Linked DNA regions of Homo sapiens: regions 1, 2, 4, 5, 6 and 7 are each linked to region 3. Evidence: promoter capture Hi-C in 16 types of primary human blood cells and fetal thymus (Javierre and others, 2016). All regions are on one chromosome and are shown on one strand. Each heading gives the region's core, a stretch centred on a gene start or on the middle of the fragment in contact. The rest is flanking DNA. Distances are from core to core; before and after follow the strand shown.

Region 1 (2,892 bases), core at 261-2,760, 900 kb after region 3:
GGAAGTGCATTGGACCTGGAGGTGGAAGATCTACGCTTAGCACGGGCCTGGCTCCTCTCTCATTGACTGGCCTTACGCCGACCACAAATAATTCCCCTTACCCAGAGTCTTTGAGGGTGAAATGAGGCGATGGGGGGAAAGTGGCTTCTAACCTGTGAAACACCCTGCAGATGACAATGGTTTCATACCAGGCCCATAGGACTTCCCAGCATAGGCCAAGGCCACTGCCTCATTTCCCTCGGCCCCAGGAATTTCTTCCTTTCTGGAGTGCTTCATCCAACTGGGTGCCCAGGCAGGAACCCCTAAGGGCCAATGAGTTGTCTGCAGAGAAGTTCTAGCAGTTCAGGAGAGGAGCTCACCTTAGGCTGGGGCTTGCGGCAGGGATGTTAGCAAAGGCTCCAGGAAAGAGGCCTGTGGTGAACTCGGGGCAGGGCTTTGGAGGGAGGGCTTTGCGGCAAGCAGAGGGGAGGTGAAGGCGTGGGTAGAGTACATCAGGGCAGCATGGAGAAGGCTGGGTGGCTTGGGGGAGGGTGGCGATGGGGTCATAACAAAAACATAAGAAGGTGGTTTGGGGCCAGGTGATGGATGCCTTGGGAACTGCTAGCCCAAGAAGTTTGGGCTTTTTTTGCAGGAGGGCAGCCACTGAGGATTCTTGAGGAGAGAGAGACCATAGAATGAATGAAAGAGTTGGAAAGACTTTAAAGCTCTGGGAGGCTGAATCCTTTATTTCGCTGGAAGAAAAACTGAATGCCAAGAGGGCCTCACTTTCCCCAAAGCTATACAGCCATCAGGGGCAATGCTGGGATTCCCCCATGGATCTCTTGACTCCTAATACAGTGCTCTTTCTGATATGCCATCTGGCTCCATAATGAACATTGTGTTCCAGGAAAATCAGTCTGCGCTGAACAGGATGGAATTGGGGCAGGACGTCCAGTGAGGAGGACATTGAGGCAGTAGAGCAGTTGATTGCCGAATGACCACCTACCCTGACTTAAAAGATCAACCTCAGGGAGGATTGGAGCTTTCTAGAGTCTCTTGGGACAGCAGAAGCACAGGCCGGGTTGGACTGAATCTTTAAGTGGACATGAGGGACAAAGTACCTCCTGTTGGTAAACATCTCACCACCAACCCACTGTGGTGGCTAAAATCCCACCTTTAGTCCCAGCAACATATGAGCATGTCACCAGGAGGTCTTCACAGGCCTGTCTGCCACCTGAGTGTAGACATCTTTTGGCCCTGGAGCCCAGAGAGGCTGAATGTGGAGAGGGTGGAGAGAGGTCTGTAGTCCTCAGAGAAGACTTGCAGCTTTTTCAGAGCCACCAACCCATAAAAAAAAAAATCCCCAAACAGAAAAATCCTAACTGTGGTGACCAGGTACCTCCTGAGACATGAAGCCTCCACTTACCTGGACCCTGGAGGCCTCTCCGGGCACAGCTGCCAATGTTGATCTTAGATAAGACCACCAGCAAGTAAACATCCACTGTGCAAAGCTGTGTTATCTTTGGGGAACTGAAATGTCCCCTGGGAGTTGGAAACTCCCCTAGCCACATACCACAGAGTTGAGGAAGGAAGAGCTGATGGACGGAAGAACCATGGCGGGAGGAGTCATCCGGAAGCTACCTCGCTGCCCTGTCAGTTACGGAACAGAGGAGAGATGCCGGCTGGAGGACACAGCAAATTTGAACCAAGAGGAGCTTGGAGGAAGCCCGAGCGACCTGGAGGGGACTGGCTGACCTTCCTCATTCTTTTCAAGTGTGAATAATAACCAAGCCCAGTTTGGCAACTCCTTGAGGGTGAGGACGAAGCCCCATTCTCCTTTTTGGAACTTGGTGGGGCTCAGGAAGCAGGTTCTCTCCAGTCGGTGGCTTTCCTTTCTGTTGCGGGTCTCTTGAGGGCCTGCCTTCATGAAGGCACATGAGTGACTCATCATTTGTGAATTAATTGCTATATGTGAAGGGCATCTGAGAACAAATTATCTTCATAGACTTTTCATTATAATTTTATTTGTACTGATAATTAGTTGGTTTAGCAAGCTCTTTTTTCATAGATTTGGCTAAACTTCAGTCTGAAAGAGGCAAATTCTGGGGTTCTAGAAAGAGATTTTATTCTTTGATATAGGGCTATTTGGTGGGGTTGCTTTTTGTCCTAGTTGTAGCTTTTATAATTTCGAGATTCACATTTTGCAATAGAAATATACAGGCATACCTTGGAGGCATTACAGCTTTGGTCCCAGACCACAATGAAGCAAGTCACACGAATTTTGTTGGTTTCCCAGTAAATATAAAACGTATGCTGATACCATACTATAGTCTAAGTGTGCAACAGCATATGTCTAAATGAATATACATATATATTTTTTTGAGACAGGTTCTTGCTCTGTCACCCAGGCTGGAGTGCAGTGGCACTATCATGGCTCACTGCAGCCTCCACCTCCCTGGACTAAGATGATCCTCCCACCTCAGGCTCCCAAGTAGCTGGGACTACAGGTCACACCACCACACCCAGTTAATTTTTGTATTTTTTGTAGAGACAGAGTCTTGACATGTTGCCTAGGCTGGTCTTGAACTCCTGGCTTAAGTGATCTGCCTGACTTTGCCTCCCAAAGTGCTGGGATTACAGATGTGTAGTCTTTGAAATCCAGTGTGTGTTCTTACAGTGCATTTCAATTTGGACTAGCCATGTTTCAAATGCTCAGCAGCCACATGCGGCTCATTCTAGATAGGCGGCCATCGCTCTTAAATCCTCCCTGACCTTAGCCATGCTCTCTCATCCCTCCTCTTCGCCAAGCTCTGCCTCTCTCACTGGGGCTTCCCTAGCCTCCGGCCATCTTGGGGCCAAAGCTCTAACACTTTGCCTCTCTCGTGTCTTCTGTTCCCCTCCAGTGGCTTCTGC
Region 2 (2,700 bases), core at 58-2,557, 860 kb after region 3:
CGAGACCAGGGCTCCACAATGATCTACCTGAAGGCTATCCAGGGCATCCTGGGGAAATCGATGCCAAAAAGGAAGGGAGAGGCTGCCACTCGGGCAAAACCAAGCGCAGCAGAGCATCCCAGCCATGGAGAAGGACCAGCCAGGAGTGAAGGACCAGCCAAGACTGCAGAAGGAGCAGCCAGGAGTGTCACAGTCACTGCTGCTCAGAAGGAGAAAGACGCAACCCCAGAGGTCAGCATGGAGGAGGATAAGACAGTGCCAGAGAGGAGCAGCTTCTATGACAGGAGAGTAGTTATAGACCCTCAAGAGAAACCCAGTGAGGAGCCCCTTGGGGACCGAAGGACTGTCATTGACAAATGCTCTCCACCCCTAGAGTTCTTGGATGACTCTGACTCTCATTTAGAAATCCAAAAGGTGAGTAAAGCTTGTACCAGGCATCTGACTTTTTAGTTCTGTTGATGAAATGTGTTCCATCTTTCTAGTTTGATCCTAAGTGTTACTAATTAAAAATAGTACTTTACTTAACCAGGCCTCCAGGGAACAAACTGATGGTTTTCTTCTAACATACTTTTCAGATTTTCAGAGTTATTAATAAACCTAAACTAAGTGCTTTTTTTTTTTTTTGAAGGATTTATATGTTAGGATATGGGTTTAGCTGCTGTGTAAAAGGCCAAAATCACAGTGGCTTAAACAGAATATAAGTTTGGCTTAAGAAGGATGGCTCCATCATGTCAGAGATACTGGTACCTTTTGTCTTGATTCTCTATCACCCCTCAACACAGTGTCCATCTCTTGGTGTGAAATGGATACTCTGATAGGACTCAGGGTTTGTTATCTGGGCATTCTGGCCAGTGGGAAGGGGAGAAGAGGAGAGTGCATTCCTTCCCTGTTAAGAGCTTGGCTCAAGAGTTGCACATGTTGTATCTGCTGTTGACAAGAGCGGGGAAACCCGGCTGACACCTGGCTGCAAGGGAGTCTGGAAAATCAGCCTTTATCTAGGCAGACTTGTACCTGGATAACCAGAGAAGAAGGGAAGGATGTCATTGGACGGAAACTAGTGATTTTTAACATAGCTTATAATTGAGGGGAAGCATTCCTCCATCTTTTTCTTTTTTTTTTTTTTTTTGTTGTTGGGACAGAGTCTTGCTCTGTTGCCCAGGCTGGAGTGCGATGGTGCAATCTTGGCTCACTGCAACCTCCACCTCCTGGGTTCAAGCAATTCTCCTGCCTCAGCCTCCTGAGTAGCTGGGATTACAGGTGTGCGCCACCAAACCGGCTAATTTTTGTATTTTTAGTAGATATGGGATTTCTCCATGTTGGCCAGGCTGGTCTCGAACTCCTGACCTCGTGATCCACCTGCCTTGGCCTCCCAAAGTGCCGGGATTACAGGCATGAGCCACTGTGCCAGGCCACATTCCTCCATCTTACTCGTCTCCACCCATCCTTTACTACTGCTCTGCAGGCAGCTTCTCTCATCTTTAGCTCTTTCTTCTAGTACTTACCCCATGTTTCTAAATAATCTTTACTGTTGATCAGTTTTTCAGTTTTAGATGTCTGAGGACTTCTTGCTTGGGCGATGAGAATTTAGTTCTCTATACCTCCTTCAGAAGCACCCACACCCAGGGACACATTAGCTTCCCCTTTCTGCAGCCTCCCTGTGTGGCTTGAATACCTTTTGGGTTAAGTCTGTGTAAGATTTGTTACTGCCATGTTCACAGCTGAGTCGCCTTGTATACTCTGATCACATTTTCTTTCTTGTAAAACTTCATTTTCCTTAAAGTTCATCATTACTTTGTTTTTCCTTTGGTTTTCCTGGTACCTTTCACTAATTAATCCCCAAACTGCGAGAGCTGTAAAATCCTTCTCAATACTGTCAAAATAAGGAATCTGTTTCTTTTTTTTCTCTCTTGGAGGTATACGTCCTCAGCCCTCTGTTGTCCTGCTCTGGTCTGGACTGCCTGCCGTCAGGCCAGCTGGCAGCTGTCTCTCTGGAGCCTCCTTCACATTTCTCCCGGATTGAGTCTTCTGCTACCTATACTCTGTGTCTTCTCATGTTCTTCTTCCTTGGTTTACTCTCACATTTTGGTGGAATACTTTTTCTAGTAGCTTCTTGAGAAAGGGTACATGGAGAAACTTTTTTTGGTAAACATGTGTCTGAGATTGCCTTTATTTTACCTTTAACCTTGATTACAAGCTTGGTTGGTTTTGGAATTCCAGGTTGGAAATTGTTTTGTTTGGGATTTTGAAGGCATTGCTCCTTTTCTTCTGGGCTTTTTTTTTTTTTTTTTTTTTTTTGAGGTGGAGTCTCGTTCTGTCTTGCCCAGGCTGGAGTGCACTGGTGTGATCTTGGCTCACTGCAGCCTCCACTTCCTGGGTTCAAGTGATTCTCCTGTCTCAGCCTCCCGAGTAGCTGGGATTACAGGCACACGCCACCACACCTGGCTAATTTTGTATTTTTGGTAGAGACAGAGTTTCATCATGTTGGCCAGGCTGGTCTCAAACTTCTGACCTGAGGTGATCCACCTGCCTAGGCTTCCCAAAGTACTGAGATTACAGGTGTAAGCCACTTCGCCTGGCCTCTTCTGGTTTTCTTGATGTCTGAAGCTATGCTGGTTCCTGAACCTTGGTATATGATTTTTTATTTTTTATTTTCTTTTGCTTTGAGACAGAGTTTTGCTCTGTCACCCAGGTTGGAGTCCA
Region 3 (2,700 bases), core at 169-2,668:
CTCACTCCCCTGCAGGGCAACGCCCAGGGACCAAGTTAGCCCCTTAAGCCTAGGCAAAAGAATCCCGCCCATAATCGAGAAGCGACTCGACATGGAGGCGATGACGAGATCACGCGAGGAGGAAAGGAGGGAGGGCTTCTTCCAGGCCCAGGGCGGTCCTTACAAGACGGGAGGCAGCAGAGAACTCCCATAAAGGTATTGCGGCACTCCCCTCCCCCTGCCCAGAAGGGTGCGGCCTTCTCTCCACCTCCTCCACCGCAGCTCCCTCAGGATTGCAGCTCGCGCCGGTTTTTGGAGAACAAGCGCCTCCCACCCACAAACCAGCCGGACCGACCCCCGCTCCTCCCCCACCCCCACGAGTGCCTGTAGCAGGTCGGGCTTGTCTCGCCCTTCAGGCGGTGGGAACCCGGGGCGGAGCCGCGGCCGCCGCCATCCAGAAGTCTCGGCCGGCAGCCCGCCCCCGCCTCCAGCGCGCGCTTCCTGCCACGTTGCGCAGGGGCGCGGGGCCAGACACTGCGGCGCTCGGCCTCGGGGAGGACCGTACCAACGCCCGCCTCCCCGCCACCCCCGCGCCCCGCGCAGTGGTTTCGCTCATGTGAGACTCGAGCCAGTAGCAAGGGCCCGGTCCCACAGCTTCGACAGCCAATCAGGTGTCGAAGACAAGCAGGCGGCGGGTAAACCGACTCCCCCGAAGGAAGGGGAGGGTGGGAGGACGCCCGCGCCAGAGCCGATTTCACTGACCCTCCCCTCCCGCCGCAGGAGGCCGGCCGCGCCCGCACACCCAGCATCTCTACACCCCACCTACCTACCCGCCCCACCCAGGGGGCAACGCGAGAGTCGCTAAGCGGCTGCGTACTCCCGACGGCGTAACTGACAGGAGCTTTACTCCAACCAGAATACGCCATTTGTGTTTTCACACACGGCGGGAGGAGAAACGGCCAATCGGCGACAAGAGGCTAGCCGGAAGCGCTCCTCCCTCTGCGAGAGCAATGGCTCCGTCCGGTTTCGAGCATTTTCCGCTCCCTTCTCCCTCCCCCTCCGGTTGCCGCAGGGCGGGCCTCCCTCCCGCCTGCATCCAGCCACCCCTTTCCCTCCCAACGTAACAAACATTATGTTCCCGACTTCCCACGGGAAAGGCAACCCCCGCAAGCCACCAGACGGCCCCCCTAGCCACCCATCCCCCCAGTGTACCGCACCTCCCCTCCCACCAGAGTTCCGCTCCCCTACCTAGCCGAGGCTCTCTGAGGAGCCGGAGCGCCGAAGCACAGCCTCTTCTCTAGGCGGCCCCGGCGGCTTCCGCTGATTGGCGGCGAGTGGGCCAATGGGTGCGGGGCGGTGGGCGGAGAGGCCAATGGCGCGGCGGGAGGGGGCGTGTCCCGGGTGCCCCTGGCGCCGGCGCTGGGAATCCCCGTGCGGTCAGTGGCGTTTCCGCTCGGGCAGCGGGCTGAGTGAGCTGCCGCCGCCGCCGCCGCCGCCGCCGCCGCCGCCGCTGCCGGGGGAGGGGCGGCCGCCGCCCGCCTGCGCTCAGAGACTCACGCAGCCCCAGTCCCGCCAGTCCGCCAACACAGTAGTGCCGGCCCCCCTCTTTCCCTGGCCCTGCCCCCCCTCCCCGCCTTTGGCTCGCTCCGCCTTTCTGCCCCCCACCCCCACCTCACGGGTACGGGCCATTCCCGGCCAGGAAACGCCGTGGCGCCGCGTTGGGCCTAACTCGAGTCCTGCCGCCTCCCGGGAGTGCCGTGCGCCGCAGCCCGGGCCCAGGCCCCGGCAGCGCCTGGGACAAGGTAAGGGTCCGACAGAAAAGAGACCGAACCTCACGATCGGGCCCCAGGGGAGGGAAGGGTCACCTCCTCCGTCTCCCCGCGCTCGCTCTCCTTGGGTCGTGGGCCTGGCCCTCCCCAAGCTCTTAGGAGGATGCTGCCACTTCTCACCCCCCTCGCCGCCTTGCACACACCGTTGCAACACCCCATTTTCCCAGGGAGAGAGATCCCCCTCTAATCTAGGCGACCCAACTCCCCCTTTCATGTTTTTCCTGGGTCAGGACGCTTCCCCTCCCCCAACGCCTCTTCACCCCCTTTCCTGGGAACTGCCTACTCCACGTTTACCTTTCCCTTGAGGAGAGGCCTCTTGCTGCCCTCCGCTCGAAATACACAGGCATACTTTTTTTCTCTCCCCGATCCCCCACTCCCTACCCCCGTTCTCGCGGCCTTGTGACAGACAACTCTGATCGCTCTGGGGGCCGCGATCTCCCCTCCGTAATCTTCCTGGACGCCTTCCCTCTCGTTTTCTGGCTTCCCACCTCAGATGGCTGCTTCCCAAAGGCATTACCTTCGCCACCCCCACCACACGTTCTCTGGCTCCCCGTGGCGTGTGCCACAGCGTGTCTGAGATAGCCTCGTTGAATGTGTAGGGTTCGAGCCTGGAGTTGAGCCAGATTGTGTCGTTTTACTTGCCTTGGGCGTGGAGAACGATCTTGTGAGAATATCTTCAAAGGCAGAAAAATATTCCCTTTATGAATTCTCTTTCCCTCTGCGTGTAAGTCGGGAATGTGAAGAGGAGTGTAGGAAAGAGCCCTGGTTCAAGTAGGTAAATCGCATGAGAGGGAAAGTTAAACTGTTGGGAAAGCCCCTTCTATGCTAATTGATTCTATAGAGTCCTTGCTTGTCTCACTTCTTGGGCGTCAGTGGTCTTTCTCTTGGATAT
Region 4 (2,700 bases), core at 117-2,616, 810 kb after region 3:
GTCATAGCTCACTGCAGCCTCAACTTCCCTGGCTGAAGCAATCCTCCCACTTCAGCCTCTCAAGTAGCTGGGACTACAGGTGTACATCACTACGGCCGGCTAATTTTTTATTTTTGTAAAGATGGGATCTCATTATGTTGCCCAGGCTGGTCTCGAACTCCTGGGATCAAGCGATTCTCCCACCTTGGCCTCCCAAAGTGTTGGGATTACAGGCATGAGCCACTGCACAGAGCCCTATTTACTTACTTTCTTTTTTTGGCAGTGGGATGGAATCTCTGTCACCCAGGCTAGAGTGCAGTGGCACAATCTCGGCTCATTGCAACCTTTGCCTCCCGGGTTCAAGCGATCCTGCTGCCTCAGCCTCCTGAGTAGCTGGGACTATAGGCACGCACCACCACGTCTGACTGATTTTTGTATTTTTTGTAAAGATGGGGTTTCGCTGTGTTGCACAGGCTGGTCTTGAACTCCTGGGCTCAAGCAATCCACCTGCCTTGGCCTCCCAAAGTGCTGGGATTACAGGCGTGAGCCACTGCACCCAGCCCCTATTTGCTTTCTTGATGGCACTTGGAGCAAATGTGCCCAGGCAGGTCAAGATGATAACTACAATTTGCAGGCAGAGACAGGAAGTTGATTGTCTATCTTTGCCTAAATTGAAAATAAGAAATCATTCATTTCATCAAACCACCCAAAGCTTGTCTTCTTTCGGGAAAACCCCAAGGTTCCACTGAGCCCCAGAGTTCAAACTCATCAATTATCTTAAAGGATTTTGGTAGGAGTGAAGTATACTGAGCCCACATCTTGATCCCTGTGATACCCTGGCTCCCCCTTGCAGTAGGTGGGAAGGAAGTGGGAAGAGACATGGAGGAGGAAAATATGTTTGTTTGTTTTGTTTTTTGAGACAGAGTCTCGCTCTATCACTAGGCTGGAGTGCAGTGGCGCGATCTCGGCTCACTGCAGCCTCTGCCTCCTGGGTTCAAGTGATCCTCCTGCCTCAGCCTCCCGAGTAGCTGGCACTACAGGTGCGCGCCACCACGCCCAGCTAATTTTTTGTATTTTTAGTAGAGACGGGGTTTCACCATGTTGACCAGGATGGTCTTGATCTCTTGACCACCTGCCTCGGCCTCTCAAAGTGCTGGGATTACAGGCATGAGCCACCGCGCCTGGCTGAGGAGGAAAATATGTGAGCAGAGGAGCCATGGATAGGCTATGAGCACCTCGGCAAAGCAGTCTCGAAGCTAGAATTCAGATGAAAGGGTTTTGAGCAGCTGAAATAACTGTTACAAAGCCTTAGCTGTAGGAGAGGCCACTGGGCTATCAGTCAGAATCTGTTTACTTACTCTACACATAGTTTCACCAGCCTTGGTAAAATACCAAGTACTGCATGTGTCACAGCCTGACCTTTGTGCTCTATAAACATCAGCTCTTTTTACCTGGACAAGAAACAGACCATTATTGCTCTTTTTACATTTGAGAAAGCTCAGATAAGTGAGGCACAGCTCATCTGAGGTCAGATCTTGAGTAGTGCTGGAGCCAGCGCTTGAGCCAAATTCTGTTTGATACTAATAAAGGAGATGGGGCAGCTGGGGGTAGACCCGCTGCCAGCATCAGGGCAGGACATAGAAGACCCCATGTCAGATACAGTGCCGCTGCTTCTGCAATTCTTGTACCTGCAATGACACAGCTCGGCAGGACCAGAGGTGGTGCATTTTGCTTGAGAAAGCAGGCATATTAGCCTCAGTAGAATAGCAACAAAAAGGCCAAGGCAGTCGGATCACCTCAGGTCAGGAGTTCGAGACCAGCCTGGTCAACATGGTGAAACCTCATCTCTACTAAAAATATAAAAATTAGCTAGGCATGGTCTCAGGCGCCTGTAATCCCAGCTACTTGGGAGGCTGAGGCAGGAGAATTGCTTGAACCTGGGAGGCGGAGGTTGCAGTGAGCCGAGATCACGCCACTGCACTCCAGCTTGGGTGACAGAGAAAGACTCTGTTTCAAAAACAAAAACAAACAAAACAGAGCAAAAAAGAAAAGCAAGAAAAAGAAAGCTTCTGGAAGCATTTCCATAGGAAATGGTTTGTTTTTTAGCTAAGTCCTGGCACTTGATCTGACCTCTGATTAGCTGTGCCTCACTCTTGGAAACAAGATTATGTAGAAGCCCCAAGCCCCATCTATCACTATCACCCAACAAGTATCCCATCTTGTTCATCTACTCTCCTGCCCCATCTCCCTCCCCTCCCTTAGCCATTATTTTAAAACATTTTTATATGAAAAAATTACAAACATACAAAAGCCAAGAGCATAATGACCCTCCATGTCCCCATCAGCTGGCTTCAGTAATGATCCACCCATGGCCAACTTCTGATTAGTTTGTATGGAATCCAGGGAGATTTTCATATCCTTGATAGCTGGAGAATTCCTTCTCATTCTCCTCTCTCTGCCCTTGGACATACAGTGGGGGCCTTTAAAGATTATGGTTGTGAGTTTCTCCTACCACAGATAACTACCCTAGGCACGAGGAGCCAATCCGATTAGACCCCAGAGGAGGGGAGGGCTGGGTAGGGAGAGATGGAGAGTAATGGCTGGTGGGTCCTGTCTGATTTTCCAGACCAGAGTCCATTTCTTTTCCCCAAGACCACAGGGATAAATAAACCCAACTAATAGCCCTCATGTGTCGCAGGAGCAGGCCTCAGGGATTCCCCC
Region 5 (2,700 bases), core at 118-2,617, 630 kb after region 3:
TGGTCTTTGTCTCATTCTGATTAAGGCTTTATTAGAAAGAGGGAAAGGAGGCCAGGCACGGTGGCTCACGCCTGTAATCCCAGCACTTTGGGTGGCCAAGGCGGGCAGATCACGAGGTCAGGAGATTGAGACCATCTTGGCTAACATGGTGAAACCCCGTCTCTACTAAAAATACAAAAAATTAGCCGGGCGTGGTGGTGTGCACCTGTAGTCCCAGCTACTGGGAGGCTGAGGCAGGAGAATGGCATGAACCCGGGAGGCGGAGCTTGCAGTGAGCCAAGATCGCGCCACTGCACTCCAGCCTGGGCGACAGAGCAAGACTCCATTTCAAAAAAAAAAAAAAAAGAAAGAGGGAGAGGAATTGAAGAAGGAAAAAACAAAATGGCATCATTAAGGGAGAAGAGTAAATTTTAAACTTGGCTTCAAGTACCTGTTTGTTTCTTGTTTCTTATTTCTTTTTATGGGTTGAAAGTCTTGGGATTAAACCTATCTGAGCATTGTAGTCAAAGATATGATACAAAGAACCTTCCCCATTCTGTCTACCCTTTATTCAGATCATTGAGTCTCAAATTTGGTGTGTATCAGGATTATTATCTGAAGAACATAAAAAATTCGGATTCCTAGGTCCCATTCCCAAGATTTTGACTCAGTAACTCTGGTATATGGCATGGAATATGCCTTTTTTTTCCTTTGAGACAGAGTGTCACTCTGTTGCTCAGGCAGGAGTGAAGTGGCGCGATCTGGGCTCACTGCAACCTCTGCCTCCCGGGTTCAAGTGATTCTCCTCCTCAGCCTCCCGAGTAGTTGGTATTACAGGCGCACGCCACCACACCCAGTTAATTTTGTATTTTTAGTAGAGATGGGGTTTCACCACGTTAGCCAGGCTGGTCTTGAACTCCTGACCTCAGGTAATCAGCCTGCCTCGGCCTCCCAAAGTGCTGGGATTACAGGCGTGAGCCACTGTGCTGGGTCGGAAATATGCATTTTAATAAGCTTCCCAGGGATTCCAGTACAGTGGTTTGCAGGCAACAGCTTGAGAGACACTGGCTAGTTTAGTATTTGGGTGGAAAACATTTCTGTGGGTTATTCTTGTTAGGCACTTATTTGTTTGAATTTATTTTTTTAGAGATGGGGATTTCACTCTGTCACCCAGGCTGGAGTGCAGTGGTAATATCATAGCTCACTATAGCCTCAACCTCCTGGGCTCAAGTTATTCTTCCGCCTTAGCCTCCGAAGTAGCTGGGACTACAGGTGTGCGTCTCCTCACCTAACTAGTTTGTGTGTGGAGGGGGGGAATGGGGGTGAAGGGGGGGAGATGGGGGGGTGGTCTCACTTTGTTGCCCAGGCTGGTCTTGAACTCCTGGCTTCAAGTGATCCTCCTGCCTTGGCCTCCTAATTTGCTGGGATTACCACATGAGCCACCTTGCCTGGCCAGAAATGGCACATTTTGAATTCTTCAAATGAAAATAGGTGAAAATAATTCTATTTGTTTGTTTTGGAAGCCACTATTGCTGAAGACAGTTTATTTCACTACAGCATCAATCCTAGTATAATTTTTAAGGACACATCAGTTTTCCTCTCATGATTATTATTCCTGGGTTTAAGTTTTAATTTTTCCTTTACTATTTGCCATATTCTTGAAAATTTTTCTATTTTCAGAAACCAGGAAGCAACCACTTTCCAAAAAGACAAAGAAATCTCATATTGCTAATGAAGTTGAAGAAAATGACAGCATCTTTGTAAAGCTTCTTAAGATATCAGGAATTATTCTTAAAACGGGAGAGAGTCAGAATCAACTAGGTAATATTTTAATCTAATTTTATTCTCTGGGTTTAATGAAATAGTTCAGGACTGAATCATGGGTTTTCTAAATAGAGAGGCAATGAAGATTAGAAATCAGAGGGCCATCCATCTTGAGACAAAGTTGAAATTGCTTTTTAGAAAATGGTACAGTCAGGCCGGGCGCGGTGGCTCACGTTTATCATCCCAGCACTTTGGGAGGCTCGAGGCAGGCGGATTGCCTGAGCTCAGGAATTTGCGACCGGCCTGGGCAACACGTCTCTACTAAAATATAAAAAATTAGCCGGGCATGGTGGCATGTGCCTGTAGTCCCAGCTGCTTGGGCGCCTGAGTCAGGAGAATTGCTTGAACCCGGGAGGTGAAAGTTGCAGTGAGTCAAGATCGCACCACTGCACTCCAGCCTGGGCGACAAGAGTGAGACTCCATTTCCAAAAAACAAAAATGGAAAAAGAAAATGGTACAGTCTTTGGTCCTCATTACTATGTCTTAAGTAAAGCATTTCTCATCCTTTTATTAGAAAAAATATTATATATTATTTATTTTGTGTTTTCTTATGAAAAAATAAATATCCAGAAAGCAGCTGTATCAGTGTCAGAATAATTTCAGAAGAAAATTTATAAAGCCATATAAGATTCTGTTTTGGGGGAGCAGATTATTCTATCTTGCTAAGGTTATGGCAGGTCTTTTTTAGAACACTTAGTGGCTATCTGCTATCAAAGCTAAGTCTTTTTTTTTTTTTTTTTTTTGAGACGGAGTCTTGCTCTGTCGCCCAGGCTGGAGTGCAGTGGCGCGATCTCTGCTCACTGCAAGCTCCACCTCCCAGGTTCACACCATTCTGCCTCAGCTTCCCAAGTAGCTGGGACTACAGGCGCCCGCCACCATGCCTGACTAATTTTTTGT
Region 6 (2,876 bases), core at 101-2,600, 760 kb after region 3:
TTCTTTCTGTCTTTGACAAATATCACATGCTATCAGAGAAACCAATAAAGATATTTTTGTTAAAAAAAAATATAGCCGGGCGCGGTGGCTCATGCCTGTAATCCCAGCACTTTGGGAGGCCGAGGTGGGTGGATCACCTGAGGTCAGGAGTTTGAGACCAGCCTGACCAACATGGAGAAACCTCGTATCTACTCAAAATACAAAATTAGCTGGGTGTGGTGGCACATGCCTGTAACCCCAGCTACTCAGGAGGCTGAGGCAGGAGAATTGCTTGAACCCAGGAGGCAGGGGTTGCGGTTAGCCAAGATCACACCAGTGCACTCCAGCCTGGGCAACAAGAGCAAAACTCCGTCTCAAAAAGAGAGAAAAAAAAAGAAAAATATATGCAAAGTGCATAGAGAAGCTTTATTATTCTCCTTTCATCAGTCTTCCCTCCTGCTCCAGCTTTTTTTTTTTTTTTTTTTTTTTTTTTGATATGGAGTCTCACTGTGTCCCCCAGTCTGGAGTGCAGTGGTATGATCTTGGCTCAGTGCAGTCTCCACCTCCCGGGTTCAAATGATTCTCCTGCCTCAGCCTCCCAAGTAGCTGGGATTACAGGTGCGTGCCATCACGCCCAGCGAATTTTTTTGTATTTTTAGTAGAAACGGGGTTCCGCCGTGTTGGTTGGGCTGGTCTCGAACTCCTGACCTCAAGTGATCCACCCACCTCGGTCTCCCAAAGTGCTGGGATTGCAGGCATGAGCCACCATGCTTGGCCTCTGCCCCAGCTTTCTGATATGACTGGTTCTCAACTGTGCCAGCACATATTAGAATTATCTGGGAAGCTTTAAAAAACAGTAGTGCCTGAGCCCCACTCCAGAATAATTGAATCTGTCTCCCTGGAGGTAGGGCTAGGCATTTATACTTTTTAAAAGCACCCCAGATGTTTCTACTGTGCAGCCAGGGTTGCAAACCACTGACTATAATTTCAAGGGAATTAAACTTGAACAGCTCAAAATGACGTAAGTGTGTAATTAATTACATTCAGCCTCAATAACTGTTTCTAACTGATCCTGGTGGGTGTTGGTCATGGAAAATAGCCAGAGGAAGAAATTAACTGCAAGATCAGAGGAAATTTCTTGTGGTGAGGCAGTATAACACAGCAGAAAGAGCATTTGCTTTGGGTCAGACTTGAGTTGCATCCTGTTGATGCGGGACAGGCAAGCCCCCAAATTGGGGTTTAGCCTGGGAGGGTTCTTAGCTTCACCCAGAAAGGAATTCCAGGGCCAGCCAGTGGTGTTAAATAGCACCTTTTATTGAAATAGCAGTGTGCAGCCGCAGCAGAGGTACTGCTCCTTGCAGGGTAGGGCTACTCCATAGGCAGTGTGCCCAGAGTAGTGGCTCAGAGGCAGTTCTACAGTCACATTTATACACACTTTTAATTATATGCAAATTAAGGGGCAGTTTATGCAGAACATTCTAGAAAGGGGCGGTGACTTCTTGGAGTCGCCATGGCAATGGTAAACTGACAAGGTACACTGGTGGCAGTGTCTTATGCGAGGTACTTCCCACCACACCTGTTTTAGCTAGTCCTCAATTTGGTCCGATGTCCCAGCCATTCCTTTCGAGTCGAGTGCTGCCCCCTACCTCACTGTCACTTGGCCAACTTGGCCCAGTTACAATTGACTTCAGCCTCAGTTTCTTCATCTGTAAAACAGAAACAATAAACCTTTGCAGGGTTGTATGGATTACAGATAATGTATGCTAAATGCCTGCTAGGTGAGTTGGTAGGTGAAGGGCAACCATTAGTAATAGCAAAGACCTTACTTTGAAGAACTTATTCTAAAGAGTGGTAACTGAGATGTGTCCCTGTGATGACCTGCTCAGGCCCAAAATGACTCAAGCTTCTCTGGAAGACAGAATCCTAGGACACAGATCCCAAGCCCTGAGGCTGGGGTGAGAAGGAATTGCGGGAAGGGCCTGAGGATGCAGCAGAGAGAGCAGTGGGGGCTCCTCTGCCTTCCAGGATTGACCAAGGCTGAATGTGAAACTTCCGTGGTCTTAAAGCCTCACCCCAGGGAAGAGGCCCTGTGGCACTGAGGGAGGAGCTCTACACACACGCTGCTTGCGGAAGAGAAGGAGAAGCAGGTAGGGGACTCTGCAAAAAGAGAAAAGGAGAAAAAGAAGAGGATCTTTATTCTCTTTTACCCCCGTGTGCCTGGGATGGAGATGCTTCTCCACCCAGCCTATGGCAAACAATCATTACAGTTCCCAAGTCCACCTTCAGCCACTGCTGAAAACACAGGACTTCACTTGAAAAGTAGTCTCAGAACACTGAAATATGTCCCACTTTCAACATCAAGGAGGACATAATAGTAATCCTTTACTGGGCTCAGCACTTCACAGTTGATCTTGAGCGTTTTGGAGTCCATTTAGGCTTCATAACAATCCTTCCAAGTGGCTGCAGCAGGAGATCCAGTTTCCAAAAGGGAAAACAGAACTGGCTCAAAGGACTAAGAGCCGGAGAGTGGCTGAACCAGGTCTCCAAACTTGATAGGACTCCAAGGCCAGTGGGTGCCTTTTCAAGACCACTAATGACAGCTACCATTTTTTGGGCACATTCTCTGTGCGAGGAAAGCCCTGTAGTAGGTGTTCTATATAGGCTACATAATTTGATTTATTCCACTCCCCTCACAACTCTAAGCAGTAGGAAGGAGCAGGCCCACTTTACAGATGCTGGAAACAAGGCTTGACGAATGAAATGAGTTGTCCAGAGTCACAAAGCCTGTTGGTGGCAGAACTGCAACTTGGCCCTAGGACTTCTCACTTTGATTTCAGCTTCCTCCTTTTGCAGCGCTACTCCATAGCTGACGGCCACAGCTATACAGTGGTACCTAC
Region 7 (2,764 bases), core at 51-2,550, 720 kb after region 3:
TAGCGGGCACCTGTAATCCCAGCTACTTGGGAGGCTGAGGCAGGAGAATCACTTGAACCCGGGAGGCAGAGGTCACAGTGAGCCAAGATCGTGCCATTGCACTCCAGTCTGGGCATTAACAGAGAAACTCTGTCTTAAAAAAAAAAAGTAAGAAAAGGAAGGAAGGAAGGGAGGGAGGGAGGGTATTTTGTTTTTCCCCTCAATTTATTGTATGTGTTTTCATGTTGCTTGTGTTCATAATTAGCATTTAAATGACTGCATAATAGGCCGGGCATGGTGGCTCATGCGTATAATCCCAGCACTTTGGGAGGCCGAGGTGGGTAGATCACCTGTCAGTTCGAGACCAGCCTGGCCAACATGGTGAAACCCCGTGTCTACAAAAAATACACAAATTAGCCAGGCGTGGTGACGTGAGCCTGTAGTCCCAACTACACCAGAGGCTGAGGCTGGAGGATAGCTTGAGCCCAGGAGTTCAAGCCCAGGAGTTCGAGGCTGCAGTGAGCCATGATCATGCCATTGCATTCCAGCCTGGGCGACAGTAAGACCTTGTCTCAGGCTGGGCGAGGTGGCTCACACCTGTAATCCCAGCACTTTGGGAGGCCGAGGCGGGCGGATTGCCTGAAGTCAGGAGTTCGAGACCAGTCTGGCCAACATGGTGAAACACCATCTCAACTAAAAATACAAAAAAATTAGCCGGGCGTGGTGGTGTGCGCCTGTAATTCCAGCTACTCGGGAGGTTGAGGCAGGAGAATAGCTTGAACCTGGGAGGCGGAGGTTGCAGTGAGCCGAGATCACACCACTGCACTCCAGCCTGGGCGACAGAGCAAGACTCCGTCTCAAAAAAACAAAAAACAAGAAAAAACCTTGTCTCAAAAAACAACACAAAAACACAAATTTCCTTCTGAAAGGGACTGTTCCAGTTTGCAGTGTGCCCAGCTATTTATGACCATATTATTTTTTAGACTCCGTCTAAAAAAAAAAAAGACTTGTATTTAATGTGATTTAATCGACTGTGCCCATCTCACTGCGGACACTGAGTGCGCAACCTGAGCCTGGAGCAGTTGAGGGAGACGGCAAGACCCCACGCGCCGTGTAACGACCATAACGCGCGTGCACTACAACCTCGCCGCCGGCGTCCAGGCTTCTGTGTTCTATAGCGTGGGAGTAGAGAGCAAACGCCGGCGAGGACGTGACGTTGCACAGGCCTATCATAGTGCCCGAGAATTCGTGGGTGCTCAAGAGGATGGGTGTGGCCTGGCAGCGCAGGCGCACTAGAGGCCTGTAGGGTCGGGGCGCCTGCGCAGTCGCTCTTCCTCAGGCGGCGGCCATGGCGGGACAGGAGGATCCGGTGCAGCGGGAGATTCACCAGGACTGGGCTAACCGGGAGTACATTGAGATAATCACCAGCAGCATCAAGAAAATCGCAGACTTTCTCAACTCGTTCGGTCAGCGGGCCAGCAAGGGGAGGCGGGGAGGAGGGAGGCCGCTGAGGTGGTTGGGCTGGGGCGCCGGGGAGATGCTTTGAGAGGACTCCCGCAGCCTTCGGCTGTTGCGGGTTTTCACTTCCTCCTTCAGGTCCCACCTTCTCCCTCCCGCCCTGACCCTCAGGCTCCCGTAGACAGTCTCTGTAGGGTTATCCTGCCCTACGCTGAGCTCATGGCTTCCTGCCATCCCTCTGGATCCATTCTACAAGTCCTTCTCCTAGACGCGTCAGGCAGCCCCATCCTCGCTCCGTGGTTCTTCTCCTAAGTGGTCTCCCTGCCTCCTTTGTACTCTGCATCCATTCCGGTCCCCACTTTGCACTCAAAGTGAGCATCCGGGACCGTGTCACTCCTCTGTTTCAAGACTGTTGACCGTTCCCCATCTTCAGGATCTGGTCGATACCCTCTAGCGTCGTGCCTTTTAGTTGGACCCGTTGTCAACCACTCCCGTCTTGTCCATTCCTTCCTGTTTCCTGTGTCTGCTGCGGTGAGAGTGGTGGGAGATGAGGTCAGAGGGATGCCAGGATCTTGTAGGACCTTGGAAGTCCTCTCTGTATTGCTAGTATATATAGCTTATGGTAGGTGTTCTGTCTGCTTCTAGCCCATTCCTCAGAGCTAACACAGGTCGGGTGCCTTCAGCAGAAAGATATCTTTACCAGAATCTTTCCTAGGCATGGCCTGCTTGTGACAGCCTTAAATTCTTCCTTATGAACAGCAAGCAAAGCAATCGAGATTCCTACCCCTTCTTCTCCAAGTGTTTAACAGAACTTGGCACTGGTTAGACTTTCTTGTGTAATTACAGGATATAGGGACTAGTGTACTTTGGAAAGATTTTTAAATGAATGATTCTCTAACTAAAGGACTGATGGCCTTAGGAGTACAAAGGTGACAGAGCAAGAGATTGTCAGAAAGCATCAGCGAGAGATGCTAGAGCTCCATATGAGGCCCTCTCTTAAGGCATAGTGGGAGACACAGAATAAGAACCACTTCCTACATTCAAAGAAGTTCTAATCTTGAAGATGAAATAATGACAACTTCAGGACAAAGAAGAGCATCATTTTTGTATTAAAGTATTTTCATACAGGGTGTTTAGGACTATAATCGTGGCTGAGTTCAATGGCTTATGTCTGTAATCCCAGCACTTTGGGAGGCCAAGGTGGGAGGATTGCTTGAGCCCAGGAGTTCAAGACCAGCCTGAGCAACATGACCAGATCCTATCTCTACAAAACAACGACAACAAAAAAATTAGTTGGGCATGGTCATGCACACCTGTTGTCCCAGCT

Evidence for each region. Contacts are between HindIII fragments. The CHiCAGO score rates a contact against its expected background, and 5 or more counts as called.
Region 1: a contact is called between the fragment with the promoter of GHRL here and the fragment with the promoter of SETD5 in region 3, in 2 of 17 cell types (neutrophils and total B cells). The highest score is 6.6, in neutrophils.
Region 2: a contact is called between a fragment that was not itself captured here and the fragment with the promoter of SETD5 in region 3, in 8 of 17 cell types (neutrophils, fetal thymus, naive CD8 T cells and 5 more). The highest score is 8.2, in neutrophils.
Region 4: a fragment that was not itself captured here is called in contact with the fragment with the promoter of SETD5 in region 3 in 1 of 17 cell types (neutrophils); the score reaches 6.8 in neutrophils.
Region 5: a fragment that was not itself captured here is called in contact with the fragment with the promoter of SETD5 in region 3 in 5 of 17 cell types (total B cells, neutrophils, naive B cells and 2 more); the score reaches 8.5 in total B cells.
Region 6: a fragment that was not itself captured here is called in contact with the fragment with the promoter of SETD5 in region 3 in 1 of 17 cell types (naive CD8 T cells); the score reaches 5.9 in naive CD8 T cells.
Region 7: a contact is called between the fragment with the promoter of BRK1 here and the fragment with the promoter of SETD5 in region 3, in 5 of 17 cell types (fetal thymus, total B cells, activated CD4 T cells and 2 more). The highest score is 9.1, in fetal thymus.

Annotation. Positions count from the first base shown.
Region 1 is chr3:10,291,437-10,294,328 of GRCh38, forward strand. It overlaps GHRL (ghrelin and obestatin prepropeptide), which reads right to left and starts at 1,511. Exons shown (of 6, transcript NM_016362.5): 1 at 1,406-1,511; 2 at 1-15. It overlaps GHRLOS (ghrelin opposite strand/antisense RNA), which reads left to right. Exons shown (of 6, transcript NR_073568.1): 6 at 632-2,013. RefSeq lists enhancers at 1,269-1,338, 1,349-1,598, 1,409-1,703. The HindIII fragment of the contact is 7,186 bases long and covers 1-2,892 here.
Region 2 is chr3:10,260,257-10,262,956 of GRCh38, forward strand. TATDN2 (TatD DNase domain containing 2) reads left to right here. Exons shown (of 8, transcript NM_014760.4): 3 at 1-414. Among named protein-coding and RNA genes, the nearest start is that of TATDN2, 13 kb to the left of the region's middle. The HindIII fragment of the contact is 1,770 bases long and covers 423-2,192 here.
Region 3 is chr3:9,396,197-9,398,896 of GRCh38, forward strand. SETD5 (SET domain containing 5) reads left to right here and starts at 1,419. Exons shown (of 23, transcript NM_001080517.3): 1 at 1,419-1,781. THUMPD3-AS1 (THUMPD3 antisense RNA 1) reads right to left here and starts at 427. Exons shown (of 4, transcript NR_132781.1): 1 at 364-427. RefSeq lists a silencer at 317-1,626 and an enhancer at 2,237-2,286. The HindIII fragment of the contact is 6,018 bases long and covers 1-2,700 here.
Region 4 is chr3:10,202,756-10,205,455 of GRCh38, forward strand. All of the region lies in intron 3 of IRAK2 (interleukin 1 receptor associated kinase 2), which reads left to right. Among named protein-coding and RNA genes, the nearest start is that of IRAK2, 39 kb to the left of the region's middle. The HindIII fragment of the contact is 1,354 bases long and covers 690-2,043 here.
Region 5 is chr3:10,031,173-10,033,872 of GRCh38, forward strand. FANCD2 (FA complementation group D2) reads left to right here. Exons shown (of 44, transcript NM_001018115.3): 3 at 1,660-1,800. Among named protein-coding and RNA genes, the nearest start is that of FANCD2, 6.1 kb to the left of the region's middle. The HindIII fragment of the contact is 752 bases long and covers 992-1,743 here.
Region 6 is chr3:10,159,597-10,162,472 of GRCh38, forward strand. No RefSeq gene overlaps it. Among named protein-coding and RNA genes, the nearest start is that of IRAK2, 3.9 kb to the right of the region's middle. The HindIII fragment of the contact is 1,059 bases long and covers 822-1,880 here.
Region 7 is chr3:10,114,375-10,117,138 of GRCh38, forward strand. BRK1 (BRICK1 subunit of SCAR/WAVE actin nucleating complex) reads left to right here and starts at 1,301. Exons shown (of 3, transcript NM_018462.5): 1 at 1,301-1,445. The coding sequence starts at 1,328. RefSeq lists enhancers at 1,109-1,398, 1,849-1,898. The HindIII fragment of the contact is 6,229 bases long and covers 1-2,764 here.